Regions from separate parts of the Homo sapiens genome. Here region 1 is linked to region 2. Evidence: promoter capture Hi-C in human tissues and cell types (Jung and others, 2019). All regions are on one chromosome and are shown on one strand. Each heading gives the region's core, a stretch centred on a gene start or on the middle of the fragment in contact. The rest is flanking DNA. Distances are from core to core; before and after follow the strand shown. Region 1 holds the start of HCAR3 (hydroxycarboxylic acid receptor 3). Region 2 holds the start of ZCCHC8 (zinc finger CCHC-type containing 8).

Evidence for each region. The method cuts DNA at HindIII sites, captures the fragments that hold promoters and counts their contacts. A contact is called where the count stands out against the background at its distance.
Region 1: a contact is called between the fragment with the promoter of HCAR3 here and the fragment with the promoter of ZCCHC8 in region 2, in 2 of the 25 tissues and cell types used here (mesenchymal stem cells and ovary).

Annotation. Positions count from the first base shown.
Region 1 is chr12:122,714,513-122,721,020 of GRCh38, forward strand. It overlaps HCAR3 (hydroxycarboxylic acid receptor 3), which reads right to left and starts at 2,299. Exons shown (of 1, transcript NM_006018.3): 1 at 244-2,299. The coding sequence starts at 2,225. The coding sequence ends at 1,062. The HindIII fragment of the contact is 11,637 bases long and covers 1-6,508 here.
Region 2 is chr12:122,499,615-122,506,454 of GRCh38, forward strand. ZCCHC8 (zinc finger CCHC-type containing 8) reads right to left here and starts at 1,318. Exons shown (of 14, transcript NM_017612.5): 1 at 1,028-1,318. The coding sequence starts at 1,226. It overlaps RSRC2 (arginine and serine rich coiled-coil 2), which reads right to left. Exons shown (of 10, transcript NM_023012.6): 10 at 3,840-6,092. The coding sequence ends at 5,913. RefSeq lists enhancers at 286-977, 978-1,671, 1,167-1,246, 1,447-1,506, 1,557-1,736 and 1 more and silencers at 877-1,026, 4,455-4,655. The HindIII fragment of the contact is 12,081 bases long and covers 1-5,968 here.

The DNA of each region.
Region 1 (6,508 bases), core at 1,049-3,548, 220 kb after region 2:
TTGCAATCCTATCTGTACTATCCTTCCAAATTATTTTTAATCCCAGCTCTTTCTATCTTTGTTTAGACACAGGTGTAATTTCTGCTTAGTTGTTTCATGATGTAGCTCAGTGTCTGTGTCTCTTTCTTACTTTGCAGTGTGGAGTAGTTTTCTACCAGGACAAAGTTAACAACCCATAAAGGTCTCTGCTTAAGTAAGAAGTCCATTTCTGTGAACCATAACCCAGATATAGCAACGCCAGACTGTCTCCTATCAAAATTTATTGAAATGGTAGATTTTTGGTAAGTACAGAAACACAAGCGAAGGAACCAGGAGGAACGTGCACCCCTCTACCCGTGGGGCAGAGGCACGTTTCCCTTTTAATGGTAAAAGCAAACAGGTGGGAAACAGCTTTCTATCCTGAAGCCGTTTTAACTGTTCAACCCTTAGATTACTATAAACAAGAGAGGAATGGATTGCATTAGTCGCTGGTTGAAAGCAGCAATGCCATTTCCTTTCCCATAATAACACTGTTTAGCTCAGTCCCTTCTGGGGCTAATCCCCTATTACACCCACCGGAAACACAGATACTAACCAAAGCATGTGAGTCTCTTCCCTGAGTCCATTTCTGCTAAAGATTGTCTGAAAGATGAATTGGTCCACGGAAGCCAGGTGACCTACTGGCTTGTTTAATGATGCCTGGGCTTCCTCCAGGAACAACACAATTCCCTCCAATCTCAGCTCTCCTTATCCCTGCTAGAGCTCACAAGCAGGCTAGATATCACCCCAGGAGCTGAGCCCCCTCCAGTCTGAGGCAGATGTGGGAAGAAGGCCAACAAGTCACAAGTAGATCTCTGGCTCCAACTCTGCTCAGCAGAAACGCCTACAATTTGCCCATCTTCAGTCCTGCGAGCGTCAGAGATGAAGCAAGTTTCAGATGCCTAGAAGCTTTACTCTCTGTTCCTCCAGGATTCCTGCGGTCACACCTTGCAACCAGTCTCCCACTCATCTGCCACAGTTTCCCTAAATCAGATTCTCTGAATCTGGAAGTTCCAGGAAATCTTAGGCCGAGTCCAGTGACATTACTCGATGCAACAGCCCAACTGTTTCTCCAGAGATGCTGGTTCTTGGTGACAATGTCCCTTCTTGGAATGGTTATTTGAGGTTGGGCCCAGATAAGAGGGGCTCCATGGCTCACCGGAGTTGGCGATTAACGCCTCTGGAGCGCCTCTGGTTTTGTTGGGGTCCCCTGTGAGCTCGACGCTCGTGCTGCGGTTATTATCTGGCTCACCTGTTATCTTCCTCTGGAGGCAGCGGTTGATCAAAGTGGAGAAGAAGTTGGGAAAGGATGGGCTGGAGAAGTAGTACACCACGGGGTCCAGCATGCTGTTCATGTAGGTGAAGCTGAGAGTGATAAAGAACGCCAGGTCCACCGAGCGGTACACTTCACAATTCTGCGTGCCCGAAGTGTGCAGGAGCCAGAAGATGTGGATCCGCACAACCACGCTGGGAAGGAAGCAGATGACAAAGACGATGGCCACCACCATGATGAAGGTGATGGCTCTCTTGATCTTGGCATGCCGGTCCATTTGTCTCTGCCGCAGGCTCCAGATAATTCTGGCTGAGCAGAACAGGATGATGCCCAGGGGCAGGAAGAACTCCAGGAGGAACATAGCTTCGTGCCACCGGAAGGTATGGCAGATGCTGAAGCTGATGCACACATTTGCAGTGCCATTCTGGATCAGCAACTTCTTCTTCAGGAGGTGGACTGTTAGGCCAACAGTGATGCCCCACAGAAGGCAAGAGATGATGGCTGCTGTCCAATTGGAGATCTTGTTCAGGGCGTGGTGGGGATGGACCACCCGGAAATACCTGTCTACCGCCACCACCGTGAGGAATATGATGCTGCCCTGGCGGTTCATGGCAAACATGAAGAGCACCAGCCGGCAAGGGATGTCCCCAAACTTCCAGTCTGAACGCCGCACATAGTAGTCCATCACGAACGGCAGGCAGATGATCAGTAGAAAGTCAGCTACTGCCAGGTTGAACAGGAAAATCCGGCTGGATTTCCAGGACTTGAGGTGGAAACAGAAAATCCACAGGGCAAGGCCATTGCCCAGAAGCCCAAAGATAAACTCCAGCCCCAACACCGGCGGCAACACCTTGGCAATGAAGTCATCTCGGAACACACAGCAGTTCTTCTTGTCTATTTCCAGAAAGTGATCCTGCAGATGGTGCCGATTCATGAGTGCAGCTAGTGAGTCCGATGGAGCGCCTCGCCTAGTGAATGCTCCAGCAAAGTGGCGTGTGTCTGTATGGTGAACGTGTGGTTCCGTGCCTGCCTTTATGTCATGTCAGGGTGTTGAAATAGATGACTGAATGGTTATCAGGAAACTACGAAATCTCTAAAAAAAAAAAAAAAAAAGCCAGCAAGGCTCTTATGCAACCTGCTGTTTGCATAAACAAATAATAAAAATCCCCTGGGCATACAGGAACCCACCAAATGTCTTAAATGTAAAGGATAAGTTTAGGCAAGCTGACTGTCATTCGAAAATCAGTGAAACATGAAGGACATCCCTTTGGAAGGCTGGGTGCTTGTATGCCAACTGAGTACTCAACGTTGCAGAATTAATTCACCGTCATCTGCTTGGCTGACATAATTAACAAAACAACAACAATAGCAATAATAATTTTTGGTGCCAAACAGTGAGGTTTTCCAGAAACACTAAGAATTAGCATGAAAAATTAACAGGCATATGACATAAACAGTAGCAGGCATATGATTTCTTTTGGAAATGCTGAGAAGACAGTAGTTGCCTGTTTGATGAGGACAGACTGGTTGAATTTGACCACTTTTCCTATGCTACCTTTCTGTACAAACATGGAGTGCTTTTCCATATCAGAACTCTGCCATTCATCTCCAGTTAGGAAAAAAAAAAAAGCCTGCTGGAGAGTGTAATATTTCATAAGATGTTTGAAAACTTGAGCCCAGTTTCAGTGGCATGTTAAAATAAGTTGGGTTTTTTGTTTGTTTATATTAGATTTTGATATGCTTCTGTGCTCAAGTGATTTAAGTATGTGATTTCTTTTTTTTGCAAACTTTGAATTAATGAGAAAAGGATTCATGAGGCTAGTTGTAAGCTGTAGCAAATCGGGTGTACTTTGTGCTACAAATTTGTTTTTCTGTGTCGCTCTGCATGAAGAGGGGTACCTTAGGATAGAGCATGGGGTTAGTACCCCATAAGCTGTCTGTTCTAGACAGCCCAGGAAACTGGTCAGTAAGAAAGTTGGTTGCAGGTCCCTGAAACAAACAAAAAACTGGATGAGGTCTCTAACTTGTTTTATGTCCTTGGGACCTTAGGATGTGATTTTTTTTTTTTGAGACAGAGTCTCACTCTGTCACCCAGGCTGGAGAACGGTGGAACAATCTCAGCTCACTGCAACCTCCGCCTCCCAGGTTCAAGCAATTCTTCTGCCTCAGCCTCCTGAGTATCTGGGACTACAGGCGTGCGCCACCACGCCCAGCTAATTTTTTGTATTTTTAGTAAAGACGAGGTTTCACTGTGTTGGCCAGGCTGGTCTCGAACTCCTGACCTTGTGATCCACCCGCCTCGGTCTCCCAAAGTGCTGTGATTACAGGCGTGAGCCACTGCGCCTGGCCGTGATTTTTTTTTTTTAATGAACTTTATTTTTTAGGGCAGTTTTAGATTCACAGCAAAATTGAGCAGAAAGTACGGACGGTCCTGTGCACTCTGTCTCCACACACGCAAAACCTCCCCCACTAAGTATGTGATATTTTTAAAGCCCCCATTTTTGTAAAATTAAACTTAGAGTGACAGGACCTAAGAGGACATGGAACCCTGCCTTGTAGCGGGACACCATTGCACACATTGTTTCTCTGCTTGTCAGTGCGATTGGGTGTCATCCTATAGAATGTTTTCTCCCTTTAATATTTTGGTCTTATGAATTCTTCCATGCAGGAGACTTCTAAACTATGTTGCTTCTACTTTGAGTTATATAATGTAAATTTCTTCCTTTTTTTTTTTTTTTCTTTTGAGATGGAGTTTCACTCTATCGCCCAGGCTGGAGTGCAGTGGCTCACTGCAACCTCTGCCTCCTGGGTTCCAGTCATTCTCCTGCCTCAGCCTCCCAAGTAGCTGAGACTACAGGTGCCCGCCACCGTGCCTGGCTAATTTTTGTATTTTTTAATAGAGATGGATTTCACCATTTTGGCCAGGCTGGTCTTGAACTCCTGACTTCAAGTGATCCTCCCGCCTTGGCATCCCAAAGTGCTGGGCTTACAGGTGTGAACCATCACTGCCGGCCATAAGATGTCAATTTATTTCTTTAGCTGCAAACGCAGGTTCAATAATAGGAGCTTATAGAGTCTTCAAGTAAACTAGAGTTAGGATGACCTAATATTAGGTTCCCATAGAACTACAAGTACTTGATGATGATCCAGGTGAGATGAAGACAATGATGAAGATGATGGTGGCACCTACATTATAGAGAGCTTCCCATGTGCTGGAACCCATACTCAGTGCTTTTTTTTTTTTGAGACAAAGTCTCGCTCTCGCCTCACTGCAAGCCCCGCCTCCTGGGTTCACGCCATGCTGCCTCAGCCTCCCGAGTAGCTGGGACTACAGGCACCCGCCACCACGCCTAGCTAATTTTTTGTATTTTTAGTAGAGATGGGGTTTCACCATGTTAGCCAGGAGCTCAGTGCTTTTATAGTTGCTTGTTTCACTCTGACTGTAGCCCATGTGGAAGGTATTATTATTGATTCTGATTTCAAATGAGGAAAGTGAAGCTCAGAGAGGATAAAATATTCAGGGCCACCCAGCTCATAAGAGCAGAGCATGGCCGGGCGCGGTGGCTCACGCCTGTAATCCCAACACTTTGGGAGGCCGAGACGGGAGGATCACAAGGTCAGGAGATCCAGACCATCTTGGCCAATATGGTGAAACCCCGTCTCTACTAAAGTATACAAAAATTAGCTGGGCGTGGTGGCGGGCGCCTGTAATCCCAGCCACTTGGGAGGCTGAGGCAGGAGAATCGCTTGAACCAGGGAGTTGGAGGTTGCAGTGAACCAAGATTGTGCCACTGCACTGCAGCCTGGGTGACAGAGCGAGACTCCACCAAACAAACAAACAAACAAACAAAAAAACCCGGGCACAGTGGCTCACGCCTGTAATCCCAGCACTTTGGGAGGCTGAGGTGGGCGGATCACGAGGTCAGGAGTTTGATACCAGCCTGGTCAACATGGTGAAATCAGATCTCTACTAAAAATACAAAATTTAGCTGGGTGTGGTGGCGCGTGCCTGTAATCCCAGCTACTCAGTAGCGGAGGCAGGAGAACTGCTTGAACTGGGACCCAGGAGGCGGAGGTTGCGGTGAGCTGAGATGACGCCATTGCACTACAGCCTGGGCAACAAGAGTGAAACTCTGTTTAGAAAAAAAAAAAAAAAAAACAGAGGCCAGGCGCCGTGGCTCACGCCTGTAATCCAAGCACTTTGGGAGGCTGAGGCGGGCGGATCACGAGGTCAGGAGATCGAGACCATCCTGGCTAACACGGTGAAACCCTGTCTCTACTAAAAATACAAAAACAAAAAATTAGCCAGGCGTCGTGGCGGGCACCTGTAGTCCCAGCTACTTGGGAGGCTGAGGCAGGGGAATGGCATGAACCAGGGAGGCGGAGCTTGCAGTGAGCCTAGATCGTGCCAATGCACTCCAGCCTGGGTGACAGAGTGAGATCCTGTCTCAAAACTAAAAGAAAAAAAACAGCTGAGCTTGGATTTGAATCTGGCAGTGACTTCAAAGCCTGTGTCCCTAACCATCATGCTCACTGCCTCTTACTATGTTATTGCCTTGTCTGTAAGGTTGAAGATCTTGCTCAGGGCATGGTGGGGATGGAGGTCATGCTGTTCAGGCTTTAGTGAAATAATTGGTATTTGTTTCTTGTTCTTGCTGCCTGTGAATACCATGCTTCCTTCTTGGATGTATGTGGACACTTGTCAACAACATTCATAAAGTAATCCTAAGGGCCTTTATTAACTAAGAGTCAGAGAAGTCAGCAGTATTTATTTCTAGAAGCTGAAATTTGCAAGGGACTCTCCCTTTCTAAGTTTCACAATTTCATAATATTTTGTGTGTGTGTTTTTTTTTAAACAATAGTCATGGATAAAATTAGAAAAAAACAACCACAGGCCAGGCCTGGTGACTCACCCTTGTAATCCCAGCACTTCGGGAGGCCGAGGCAGGCAGATCATGAGGTCAGGAGTTCAGGACCAGCCTGGCCAATATGGTGAAACCTAGTCTCTACTAAAAATACAAAAATTAGCCGGGTGTGGTGGCAGGCACCTGTAGTCCCAGCTACTCAGGAGGCTGAGGCAGGTAGAATCGCTTGAACCCGGGAGGCGGAGGTTGCCGTGAGCCAAGATCACACCACTGCACTCCAGCCTGGGCAACAGAGTGAGAATCCATGTCAAAAAATAATAATAATATTAAAATAAAAATAAATAAAAGAACA
Region 2 (6,840 bases), core at 68-2,567:
AAATTTTCCTCACAATGTGGAGGAAGACGACATTCTGAAAAAATAAATCGCGCTTCACAAACCTTAAAAACTGATATACTGACTGGGCGCCGTGGCGGGCGCCTGTAATCCCAGCTATTCGGGAGGCTGAGGCAGGAGAATCGCTTGAACCCGGGAGGCGGAGGTTGCAGTGAGCCGAGATCGCGCCACTGCACTCCAGCCTGGGCAACAGACTGAGACTCCATTCCCCGACCCCGTCCCCCTAAAAAAGCTAACATATCAGCCACTTTCAGTTCTCTACAAATTTTAAAAGGAAAACTACCCGAACCAAAGTTATCTATCTACCTATAAAACTCTACGAACGTAAAAAAAAACATACTAGCAAATCAAGAAAAATCTGCAATCTTGTAACTCAAGTCTAACAGAAACTTCTTTGGCGCGTTTTCCTCAAGGCGTTGCAAAGCATCTTCAGCACAGAAGCGAGCTCCGAGTGGAAGAACTCTAAAATTAATCCCCAATTTTAATCAAGCAATTAACCAATTATCTCAGCACACCCGGATTCCTTGAGGCCCCCAACTCTGCATTCTGGGACCACTAGCGTTTGCCCCGGTATAAAAACCGATCCCGCGTCTAAGCAGCCGGTATTTCATCACCTACAACTGTAACATGACGGCACAATTTGAGCGTGGCTGCGAAATATGAAACCTCACCACGACCTCAAACAGAGGGGGGCAATTAAGGGCTTGTGTACAATCTGTCAGGTGAGCAGCCTAAAATAACCCTAAACACGGCACCCGGGTGGGAGGCAGGAGTGGGTCTGGTCAGGAGACGGCCTCCCTGAGGGGAAGAGGTCTGCGCCGAGGCAGCCTGCGCGCCCCGAACCCTAGACTCTCGGTCCGCCGGCGGGTGACAGAAAGCACTTGGAATTCTGGCCCTCCTGGAACTTCCGCCCGCGCCCTCGCCCTCGCCCGGCGCTGCCCCGGCCCCACGCCTGGCGCTGCCCCGGCCCCACACCCGGGTGACAGGGCCCAGCGAGAGGAAAGGATATTCTCGGCGCGGAGCTGCTCGATGGTCTCCTCGCACTGCCGAAGCCGCTCCCGTAGCTCCGCGTCGCCGACCCCATTTTCGTCCTCCTCGTCGCCGTCGTCGTCCTTGAAGCGAGTGTGAACGGGCTTCGGAATCGACTCCTCTGGGTGGTCGAACGGCTCGAAGAGCTCTAGATCGCCAAAATACACCTCTGCGGCCATTTTGGGCTGTGGAAAAGATTCGAGAAGAGGCGGAGCCGGCCACCAGGGCTTGGGGAAGAAGGTTGGAAGGCGGCACCACTCTCTAGAGCTCTGGCCGCACGGAGCCACCCGCTAGGGTTTTCTCCAGACGCAGGCCGCGAAAGCTGCACACGGGGCGGGGCCAGTCGCTAGAGACTACAACTCCCGGAATGCAGCGGGGCCTATCGGGCTTGCGATTGCCCGGAGGACGGCATGCTGGGACGTGTGGTTTCTAAGCGACTGGTACTCATTGTCTGCATTGCATCCTGGGATTGGTGCTTTTTGAAATGTGAAGAAAGCTGGAGTAGGTCAGAATGCGCTAAAGCAATCTGGGGGCAGGGCGGGGTGGCTCACACCTGTAATACCAACTACTCGGGAGGCAGAGGTGGGAGGATCACGTGAGCCCAGGAGTTGGAGACCACCCTGGGCAACAGAGCGAGACCCAGACACTACAAAAAAATATAAAAATTAGCTGGGCGATTGTAGTCCCAAGTACTCGGCAAGCTGAGGCGGGAGGGTTTGAGCCCAAGAGGTCGAGGCTGCATTGAGCCCAGATGGCGCCACTGCACACCAGCCTGGGAGACAAAGCAAGACCCTGTCTCAAAAAGAAAAAGAAAAACAAAAACCAGTATGGGATGTTCCTGTTAGGCAACTAAGGGTGAAAAATCAGAGCACGACGCATAGCTTCTCACAGATTCTGGTGTGCGTGCCACACCAGAGAATAAGGAACTCCATAGCCTGAAAGGGAACTGAATAAAAATAAACATAAAAGAGAATAAGAAACTCCAGCTTTGCTACAGAGATGACTGTTGTAGATTAGTTTATTGAGCTTGCTTCGTTTTTAATGTAAGATTAGCTAGACTCAACTATTTGTCTGTTGAGGCTTTCTGTCATTCAATCACATTATTTACTTACACCTTCGATGGGCCAGGCACTTGTCTAGGACCTGAGTATGGTTACAAGAGTAACCACAATAGAGTAATTCCTCCTCTCACGAAGGCTGTAGTCCACAAAAAGCAACAAAAACCCCATAATTATAAATGTTCCTGTTCTTGGGTCGAGATGGTTGTTGATGGATATTGATCACACAAAGAAATGTGGGCCGGGGGCGGTGGCTCACATCTGCAACCCCAGCACTTTGGGAGGCCGAGGCAGGTGGATCACGAGGTCAGAAATTCAAGACGAGCATGACCAACATGGAGAAACCCTGTCTCTACTAAAAATACAAAAATTAGCCAGGCGTAGTGGCACACGCCTGTAATCCCAGCTACTCAGGAGGTTGAGGAAGGAGAATCGCTTGAACCCGGGAGGCAGAGGTTGCAGTGAGCCGAAATCGTGCCACTGCACTCCAGCTTGGGCGACAGAGCAAGACTCTGTCTCAAAAAAAAAAAAAAAAAAAAAAAGGTGAAAAACACAGGAAGTTATGAATATTTAACAAACACCCTAGTCTGTGGGAGTCAGTAAAGTGAGGAAGTGAGACTTTAAGGATCGGCAAAGTTGGGGGTGGGAGGATGGAAGAGTGTCTTAGGTGTAAGGACCACCATGTTGAGTGAAAAGGCAGAGTGGAGCAAGATGAGGTTGGAACACTGCTAGGTCAGTGCTCAAAGGCCCTTAAGGAAGCCTCTTTCCGTTTACAACATTGGGAAGTCACTTACACATTTTAACATTTTTTTTTTCTTTTTGTGGACAACAGGATCTCCCTATATTGCCCAGGTAGGTCTTGAACTTCTGAGCTAAAGCTATCCTCCTGCCTCTGCCTCCCTAAATACTGGGATTACAGGAATGACCCACTGTGCCTGGCCATTTAAATTTTTTTTTTTTGAAATTTTATTTTTTGAGACAGAGTCTCACTGTGTCACCCAGGCTGGAGTGCAGTGGCATGATCTCGGCTCACTGCAACCTCCGCCTCCCAGGTTTACTTTCACTGAAAAATCTGCATGAGGCCTGGCGTGGTGGCTCACGCCTGTAATCCCAGCACTTTGGGAGGCCCAGGCGGGTGGATCATGAGGTCAGGAGTTCAAGACCAGCCTGGCCAACATGGTGTAACCCGGGAGTTCAAGACCAGCCTAGCTGACATAGTGAAACCCCGTCTCTACGAAAAATACAAAAATTAGCCGGGCGTGGTGGCGGGTGCCTGTAATTCCAATTACTCAGGAGGCTGAGGCAGGAAAATTGCTTGAACCCAGGAGACAAAGGTTGCAGTGAGCTAGGATCATGCAACTGCACTCCAGCCTGGGCAAAAGAGTCTCTCACAAAAAAAAAAAAAAGAAAAAAAGAAAAAAAAATTCTGCATGTAAGTGGACCCTAAAGTTCAAACCCATGTGTTCAAGGGACAACTGTAATTTCATCTTTTAATTATTTGCATTTGGCTACTCAAAAAAGAAATTGAAATAAAATACTTAGGCCAGGCACTGTGGCTTCACACCTGAATCCCAGGTAGCACTTTGGGAGGCTGAGATGATGCAGATCATTTGAGGCCAAGAGTGGGAGACCAGCCTGGCCAACAGCCTGAGAACCCCATCTCAGGTACATTGTCATGGGCCTTTGGTGCCAGCTACTCAGGGGAGTGAGGTGGGAAGATCACTTGGACCAATATACATATACACACATATTTTATTGGACAGTGCTGCTCTAGATGAGCAAAGTACAGGCTGTATCACTCATCATGTATGGTCAGCTCCTAAAATAACTGTAGACACACAGGAAGCTTTTGCGTCCACACTGCCTTAGAAGGTCATGAACATTTTTAATAAGATTGATTTAAAAAGGCAGAGCTTAATTGAAAAATGTTGATGATCACGAAATGAAGGATCCATAGTGTCATTTCCTTAGAAGGCTTAGATTTGTCACTGAAACACGGTGAAAAGCCATTTTGCCATAGAATTTCTGTGCTCTGGGAAAATGAAAGGTTTATTAAAGTACATTAAAAATCTTACAATCTGGCTAGGTGAAGTGGATCACACCTGTAACCCCATCACTTTGGGAGCCCTGAGGTGGGAGGATTGCTTGAGGCCAGGAATTCAAGACCAACCTGGGCAACGTAACAAGACCTTGTCTTTATAAAAAATTAAAAACAAGCTAGGTGTGTTGGTGAGCACCTGTGGTCCCAGGTACTCAAGAGGCTGAGGTGGGAGGACTGCTTGAGCCTGGGGGAGCCTGCTGCAATGCACTGCACTCCAGCCTAGGACAGAAAGCAAAAAAAAAGAAAACACCCCATTACTTCATTTTCATGTATAAAAAAAATACCTAATGAGCAAGTTGGCAAGACTTAATTCCAGCTTTTAAAATAAGGCTGTCAATCTTATTCCTGTAGTCTTCCCTGATTGTAATGTGCTCTCATTCTGTGATGTTTTCCAAAGGATTTTTCAAAGGAAAGCCAAACCTTATTACTTTGCTGTAACTGAAGTAAATTAACTTCAAGTTTTGCAGGCCCCCCCCACCCCTTGGCTCCAGATTTATGTTCAATCTAGTAACAAAACATTTTCTAGGCTGGCTGCAGTGGCTCACGCCTATAATCCCGGCACTTTGGGAGGCTGAGGAGGGTGGATCACCTGAGGTCAGGAGTTCAGGACCAGCCTGGCCAACATGGTAAAACCCCACCTCTACTAAAAATACAAAAATTAGCTGGGTGCGGTGGTACGCCTGTAATCCCAGTTACATGGGAGGTGGAGGTGGGAGAATTGCTTGAACCTGGGGGGCAGAGGCTCTGGCAGTGAGCCGAGATTGTGCCACTGCACCCAGTTTAGGCAACAGAGCAAGATCCTGTCTCAAAAAAACAAACAAAAAAAATTTCTAATATTTTAATATTTTATAGTCTATGCTGGAGAAGACTTCAAAGGGATAATGAGCAAAAAGCATGCAAAGAACTTGTTATAAGGCACTTTATTAAAATAAAAGTGCTTACATCCCTTTAATGCATTAATCTATCTCCTGAATAACACATGTAATATTTGACAAATACTGAATACCAAGTCTGTCCCTTATAATAGGAAAACATACTATTTTAGTAAGTTTTCTCCTTCCACCTTTTACATTTTTGCTCACCACGGTATTGACTGTAGTATAGTTAACTGGCCTTAAAAAGGGTGGTGGGGAGGGGATTTCTAGCTAGTGTTTTCTAACAGCAATTGCCAAATGCTACAGAAACTATAAAACAAATTCAAAGAAACATCCCAGGTAACTTAAATTAACACCAGTTTTGAGAAAACCATTTTTATTATCATTACCACCCAGCTTATCTGTGCTGGATTATGTACCAAATGGCCAGATCTTCTAAAGAACATCTACATAACATTTCTTTCATGTTTCAAGAGATGAAAATAACTGTACAAGGTTAAGTACAAAAGTACACAAGACAGCGGACACGAAAAAATCCATGTATGAGATTTTATCCCCACCTGCAGCTTTTATATATTTGAAAAGTAGAATTCATGAACTAAAAAATATTATCCTTCTATAGTCCTGTCAAGTTTAATGGAAGTGGGTTTAACCTGATTACAACACTAACACCAGTATCACTGATCTGATATTTACAAAAATTTGTATTTTTCAATAAATTAAAGTCAATGCAACACCCATGCAAGCTAGAGTGCTAGCTGTTTGGTGAACAAGGACGTGACATCAGAACAAGAAGTCTATAAGTCCCAAACTTTACAAGTGTGATCATTTTCAAACTGCATCCATTCCTCGCATTGAAGATGTGAAACCCAAACCCATTCCTCTTTGTGTGTGGGTTTGTGATCTTGCCATTTCATACTGAGCATCTAAATTTCGAAATACTTCTTCCTGCTGCTTCAGAGTCTTGTAACTTTCTTCATCAACTGAGCTACATCCAGCTTCATCTTCACTCTAAAAATCAGACATAAAACATTACAATGAATTCAGATGGAGATAAATATTCTCTCACTTGACACTATTTTTTATGTATTTTTTTTTTTTGAGATGGAGTCTTGCTCTGTTGTCCCGTCTGGAGTGCAGTGGTGCCATCTCGGCTCACTGCAACCTCTGCCTCCTGGGTTTAAGTAATTCTTATGCCTCAGCCTCCCAAATAGCTGGGATTAGAGGCACATGCCACCACGCCCAGCTAATTTTTGTATTTTCAGTAGAGACGGGGTTTCACCACATTGGTCAGGCTGGTCTCGAACTCCTGACCTCAGGGATCCCCCCTGCCGCCTGCCCCCCGGCCTCCCGAAGTGTTGGGATTACAGGTGTGAACTAGGCTGACACTATTAAATTATACTTTTGGCCGGGTGCAGTGTGGCTCACGCCTGTAATCCCAGCACTTTGGGAGGCTGAGACGGGTGGATCACCTGAGGTCAGGATTTCGAGACTAGCCTGGCCAACATGGTGAAACCCCGTCTATACTAAAAACAAAAAACAAACAAACAAAAATATACTTTTGGGATATGTATTTGATCTCAATAACTTAATTTCCATTCATTATTGAACACCTCCAAAGGACAAGGCAATGTTCTTTCTAGGTCTGGAATATAGCAGGGTGTAACAAAAGTTAACTTCAGTTTAGTAGGTTGGAAAAAACATAATATGTAGAAGATGTCAGGGTATAAATGCCACAGAGGAAAGTAAAGTAGAAAAT